Linked DNA regions of Homo sapiens: region 1 is linked to region 2. Evidence: promoter capture Hi-C in human tissues and cell types (Jung and others, 2019). All regions are on one chromosome and are shown on one strand. Each heading gives the region's core, a stretch centred on a gene start or on the middle of the fragment in contact. The rest is flanking DNA. Distances are from core to core; before and after follow the strand shown. Region 1 holds the start of SLC25A39 (solute carrier family 25 member 39). Region 2 holds the start of FAM215A (family with sequence similarity 215 member A).

Region 1 (2,700 bases), core at 67-2,566, 410 kb after region 2:
CCTGAGGCCACCATTTGCTGGAGGGGGCTGATGCCCGCAGGGTCCTGGTCAGCCATCTTGAAGCTTCAGTCCTGAAAACCAAACCTCAAACAGACCACAACTCCAGGGATGGCAGGAAAGGAGGCTGGGCCACTGTGAGACTTTTGTTTTGAGACGGCGTCTCGCTCTGCGCACTGTTGCCAGGCTGGAGTGCAGTGGCACCATCTTGGCTCACTGCAACATCCACCCCCGTTCAAGCGGTTCTCTTGCTTCAGCCTCCCAAGTAGCTGGGACTACAGGCGCGCACCACCACGCCTAGTTAATTTTTGCATTTTTAGTAGAGACAGGGTTTCACCATGTTGGCCAAGATGATCTCGATCTCCTGACCTCGTGATCCGCCCGCCTCAGCCTCCCAAAGCACTGGGATTACAGGCGTGAGCCACCGCACCCGGCCCACTGTGAGACTTTAACCCAACCCTCATCCACCGCCCTCGAAACATCTGTTGCCTCAACAACCCTGGCAATGACCTCTAAAGCAGGGACTGTCCGCCCCCCTCCGCCGGGGAAAACTAAGGCTCGGGGAGACGAGGTGGCCTGCCCAAGGTCACTCAGGAGTGGTTCCGAAGGAAGCTAGGGTGCCAGACCTATCGCTCGAATGCAGTAGGAGCCAGGGTCCTTCCCTCGTCCACCTCGCACGTGTCCACTGCGCACCTCCTACGTGCAGGCGCGGATTTGGCCCTCGTGGCCCCAAAATCAGAGTACCTGTGCTGCCCCCACAGCCCCCACTCCAGCACCAAGGCCCCGGGCAGGCACCTGAGAGCCCAAGTTACTGGGCGTGGAGGGACGGCCGGGCATCGAGGGTGACGTGTAAACAGATCCGGTGACCAAGAAGGGCCCGTCGCCTCCTCAGGACTGCGGGCTGGGATGCCCGGCCCTCCCCGCCCGGCCGGACGGGCCAGACCCGGGGCCCGGAGAGAAAGAGCAGTCTCTGGGTTCCCGCCCCAAAATGCAGGCCCGGGGCGCAGCCGGGAGAGCGGGAAGTAGGAACGTAGGACCAGGACGTCTCCCCGACCCTCGGCGACACTCCCGGCCCCGAACGGCGGAGAGCCGCCAGGTGAGGGGGACCACGCCAGCTCGACGGCCCCAGCACCTGCCCTGGCTCGCACGGCCGCCCGGAGACCCCCGCTTCCGTCTCCGCCCCCAGCCCCGGCCCAGTGCCGCCTACCTGGCTCTAGGCTGGTGCTCGTGCGGCGCGGCGCCCAGGGTCAGGCGGGCCCATACCGGCTCCGCCGCCTGTGCGCGGTCCGCGCGCGCTCGCAGCGCACCTAGGCCGACGCCGAAAGCAGCCAAGGGGGCCCCGCCCCTACACCGCGCCACGAGGCCCCGCCCGCCGCGGGCCGACCAGCCGCAAGCCCGGAGTGTCCCCGGCTCCGCCCACTCGCGTCTCCGCCCGGACCTGCGACGGTCCCGCCCCCTTGACGGGGCCGCGCGGGCGAGTTCCATGCCTGTCCAGCGCTGAGAGCTGCCGGCCAACTTCGCGGTCTCCACGTCGCGCTTAACGTGGCAGCAGCACGCACTTCCAGCATCTTTTTTTAGACAGCATCTTTTTCAGCCTCGCTCTGTCGCCGAGGCTGGAGGGCAGTGGCGCGATCTAGGCTCACTGCAGCCTTGACCTCCCGGGTTCAAGCGATCCTCCTGCCTCAGCCTCCGGAGTAGCTGGGACCACAGGCGCGCGCCGCCACGCCCGGCTGGTTTGTTACTTTTATTTTTGTCTCCCTATTTTGCCCAGGCTAGTCTGGAACTCCTGGGCTCAAGCGATCCGCCCACCTCGGTCTTCGAAAGTGCTGGGATTCCAGGCGTGAGCCGCCGCGCCGGCCTTAACAGCGCATTTTCACCAGCCCCGCCCCGGCCGCGCGCGGCACTGGAAACCCCAGCGCCTTCTGGACGGCGAGGGTGACGCACTGGCCCTCTTCCTCGGTGTCCTCAGGTGCGTGGCGGCGGCAGTGAGAATGAGTTCTTCGAGATCGCCGGGAGACCACACAATAACGACGAAGTTACTTGCCGGGCTACCCGCCGAGACTTGAAAACTTCGCGGCGACTTCTCTCGCCGGCCTTAGCATCGCCCCCATTTTTCAGGTTACAGGACAGGCCTGCAACTGCAAAACGCTTTGTAAACCACAGGGCCCCGCGCGGGTGTGCGCCACTGGGTTAGCTGAGCTGCAGCCCGGGCCGGGCGGGCTGGGACGTGAGCAAGCCGGGGGAGACGGGAGAGCCATGGGGAGCCAGATCCCACCTTCGCGTGACCTTGGGCAAATCACAACCTCGCCTAAGGCCCGGAATGACTCTGCGCGGAGAGGAAGAGCACTGAGTGCGGGAGGGCATCGACGTTTTGGTGTTGGTTGCTCTCGTATCGTGATTTCTTCTGAGTCTCAAAACTCTTTGCAGTAGGTTATTGTTGAAATAGATTACCACAGGCCGGGCGCGGTGGCTCACGCCTGTAATCCAGCACTTTAGGAGGCCGAGGCGGGCGGATCACTTGAAGTCAGGAGTTCGAGACCAGCCTGGCCAACATGGTGAAACCCCGTCTCTACTAAAAATACAAAAGTAGCCGGGCATGATGGCTGGCGCCTGTAATCCCAGCTACTCGGGAGGCTGAGGCAGGAGAATCGCTTGAACCCGGCCGGCGGAGGTTGCAGTGAGCCGAGATCGCACCACTGCATT
Region 2 (2,747 bases), core at 181-2,680:
AGTCCTGTGGCTGCCAACCAGAAGCAGACTCAGCATTCAAGGACCATTTTCCATACCCCTATATCTGCATGCCCAACCAATCAGCAGCACCTCTACCCTACCCTAGACCCTGCCCACCAAACTATCTTTGAAAAACTAATCTTCAAGTTTTGGGGGAGACCGATTTGAGTAATAACTATTTCCTGTGTGCCCGGCCTTGTGTCAATTACTCTTTCTTTACTGCAATGCCATGGTCTCAGTGGATTGGTTTTGTCTGTGCAGTAGGCAGGAAGAACCCATCAGGTGATTACAGTACCTGCACCCCCAACCTGCTTTGGGAAGAATCCAGCCAAAAAACTTGAGGCCTGCAGCCTCAGGGTGAGAACAAGACAAAAGGGGGATGGAGGGAGATTGACTCGCTGTGTCTCAGCTCCAGAGCAGCCCCCCTGCAGCCTCCCAAGGGTTTATGCAAATCATCAAAGGGATTCCTTGAGGCAAAAGGTTTGAGTCTGCAGTTCTGAGACCCCCAAGGATGTGAGGAGAGACCCAGGCCTATCTCCTTTGGGAGGGGCCCCAAACTTGGGGGAAGGGATACTGGATGCCAACTGAAACCCAAACATAAAATTCTAAGCTCACCCAACCATCTGAATGGACTCCTCCTCTCCACTCAGCAAAGGGCATTCCAAAGTTAACCTGAAAACTAGTTCAGGCCATGATGGGAAGGGGAGCCCAGTCATGCCTAATTATACGATCCCTCCTTTTGGACTTACTGATAGAACAGACTCTTTAAGTCTGAAAGGAAACATTTACAGTCTATTCTCTCTGAAGCCTGCCACCTGGAGGCTTCACCTGCGTGATAAAACCTTGGTCTCCACAATCTCTTATCTTAACCCAAACATTCCTTTCTGTTGATTTTAAGTCTTTAGACAGTAATTTAACTCTTTCCACCAATTGCCAATCAGAAAATCTTTCGATCTACTTATAACCTGGAAGTCGTCCACTTCCCCAACCCCATTCCAGTTGTCCAGCCTTTCCAGATCAAACCACTGTACATGTCGCATATATTATTGATGTCCGATGTCTCCCTGAAACACATAAAACCAAGTTGTGGCCTGATCACCTTGGGCACATGTTCTCAGGATCTGCTGAAGGCTGTCATGGGCCATTGGTCATGCATAGTAGGCTCAAAATAAATCCCTTCAAATATTTTACAGAGTTTGACTCTTTTGGTTGACACACCAAGCTCAAGCAGGAAGAACCGGGCTCAAGAACTGTCTCTCTCCTTTCTCTCTGTTAGGCATGGGGGGGAAGGGAGTGTTGTGTTAGGCATGCGGAGGGGAAGGGAACAGGGTTGTGTGCAGAGGAAAATGCAAATTCTTACCTTGTCAGGGTCTCTGACCTGATGGCGACCCGTGGTGGAGTCTTCACAGAGACAGATACCACTGCAAGGGCAGACCCAGACTGTGCAACCCCCAAAGCAGGTCTCCTCACTCACCGGGATAGATAGAACTATCGGCCCCAATTCCTCAGCCCTACCTGCAACCACCGCTTGCCATGGTTTCCTTGTGGGTGGAGGGTACTTTCCCGCCCCCTGGTTTCGGGCTTGCCCACGTGGCTTGCTCTGGCCATGGAATGAAGCAGAAACGAAAGCCTGCCAGTTCTGAGCCTACGCCGGAAGACGCCTTGGGCGGTTCCGCGGTCCCTGTGCGCTTCCACCTTCACCCAGAAGGACTTCTCTGGTGCAGCCGCTGCTTCTTCAGCCACGGCCCAAAAGGATCGGAGCCCCCTGGCCGATCCGCAGGTCTGCAGGGAGCCACAGAGCGCAGCGGCCGGCCCAGCGTTCAAGCCCAAGCACAGGCCTGCGAGAACCTTGTTCCAGCCACCGTTTGGGATGGTTGATTAGGACTTGTTGCTGTGGCGGTAGCTCACCAATCCAATGCGTGCACCCGCTCCTTTATTAGGCTATAGGGCCAGTGGCTGCGACAGGGACCTGATACAACAGTGCGTTAAATAAGGAGCTTATTGAGCTATCATGTCGTAAGCCGGTGGAGAAGTCCAGGGCTAGTGTGGGGGCTCCGGCGGGGGCTGTGGCCCCCATCCGCATGGAGCCTCCCCACGGTTCACAGGTCTCGGTCTTCGGAGCCTTCAGCCCCGTGAGCCCGAACAGTCCACACGGCGGCGCCAGACCCTCTTCCCAACGCCACCCTCTGAAGCCTCCGCTCCAACCGTCTCCACTTCTGCTTCAGGCTCAGGATTTTCACTTTTCTCGAATGGGGGTGGCCCTCCCCTGATCTTCTGAGTCGCAACAGCATCTCCCTCCCTCCAGGACCTCAGAGCCAGAGCTGGGCGAGAGGCCCTGACCTCCGGGGTAGGGTGGCAGCATCCCTGTGAAGGTGCGGTCCTGCCTCCCATCCCCAGGCGCCCGGCCTCTCCCACCCTCAGCGCCCTGCTCACCGCCAGCTGAAGATGCCAGGGCACCTCTGCTTCCTCCCTGCCCTCTCTGCAGTATCGCAGAGTGAGCATAAAAGGGCTTAATATAGGCTTCACTGGTCGTGGTGGCTCGCGCCTGTGAACTCAGTAACTTGGGAGGCCAAGGCCGGAGGATCACTTGAGGCCAGGAGTTCAAAACCAGCCTGGGCAACAAGGTGAGGCCTGTCTCTAAAAAAAAAAAAAAAAAAAAAAAAGAAAAGAAAAGAATAAAATAGGTTCCTTTTTCTGGGAGATTGATGTAGGGGAGCGAGCGTGTGTGAGTTGGAAGGGAGGCATTG

Evidence for each region. Contacts are between HindIII fragments. The study calls those that stand out against the background at their distance.
Region 1: the fragment with the promoter of SLC25A39 here is called in contact with the fragment with the promoter of FAM215A in region 2 in 1 of the 25 tissues and cell types used here (IMR-90 fibroblasts).

The regions. Positions count from the first base shown.
Region 1 is chr17:44,323,507-44,326,206 of GRCh38, forward strand. SLC25A39 (solute carrier family 25 member 39) reads right to left here and starts at 1,317. Exons shown (of 12, transcript NM_001143780.3): 1 at 1,205-1,317; 2 at 1-71. The coding sequence starts at 56. It overlaps LOC124904009 (a long non-coding RNA gene), which reads left to right and starts at 1,947. Exons shown (of 2, transcript XR_007065768.1): 1 at 1,947-2,115. RefSeq lists silencers at 860-1,079, 1,100-1,529 and enhancers at 1,630-1,819, 1,980-2,059, 2,110-2,169, 2,240-2,700, 2,350-2,399. The HindIII fragment of the contact is 13,748 bases long and covers 1-2,700 here.
Region 2 is chr17:43,915,778-43,918,524 of GRCh38, forward strand. It overlaps FAM215A (family with sequence similarity 215 member A), which reads left to right and starts at 1,431. Exons shown (of 1, transcript NR_026770.1): 1 at 1,431-2,210. LOC105371787 (a long non-coding RNA gene) reads right to left here and starts at 1,447. Exons shown (of 2, transcript XR_001752898.2): 1 at 1,361-1,447. RefSeq lists enhancers at 1,253-2,074, 2,075-2,747. The HindIII fragment of the contact is 7,093 bases long and covers 1-2,747 here.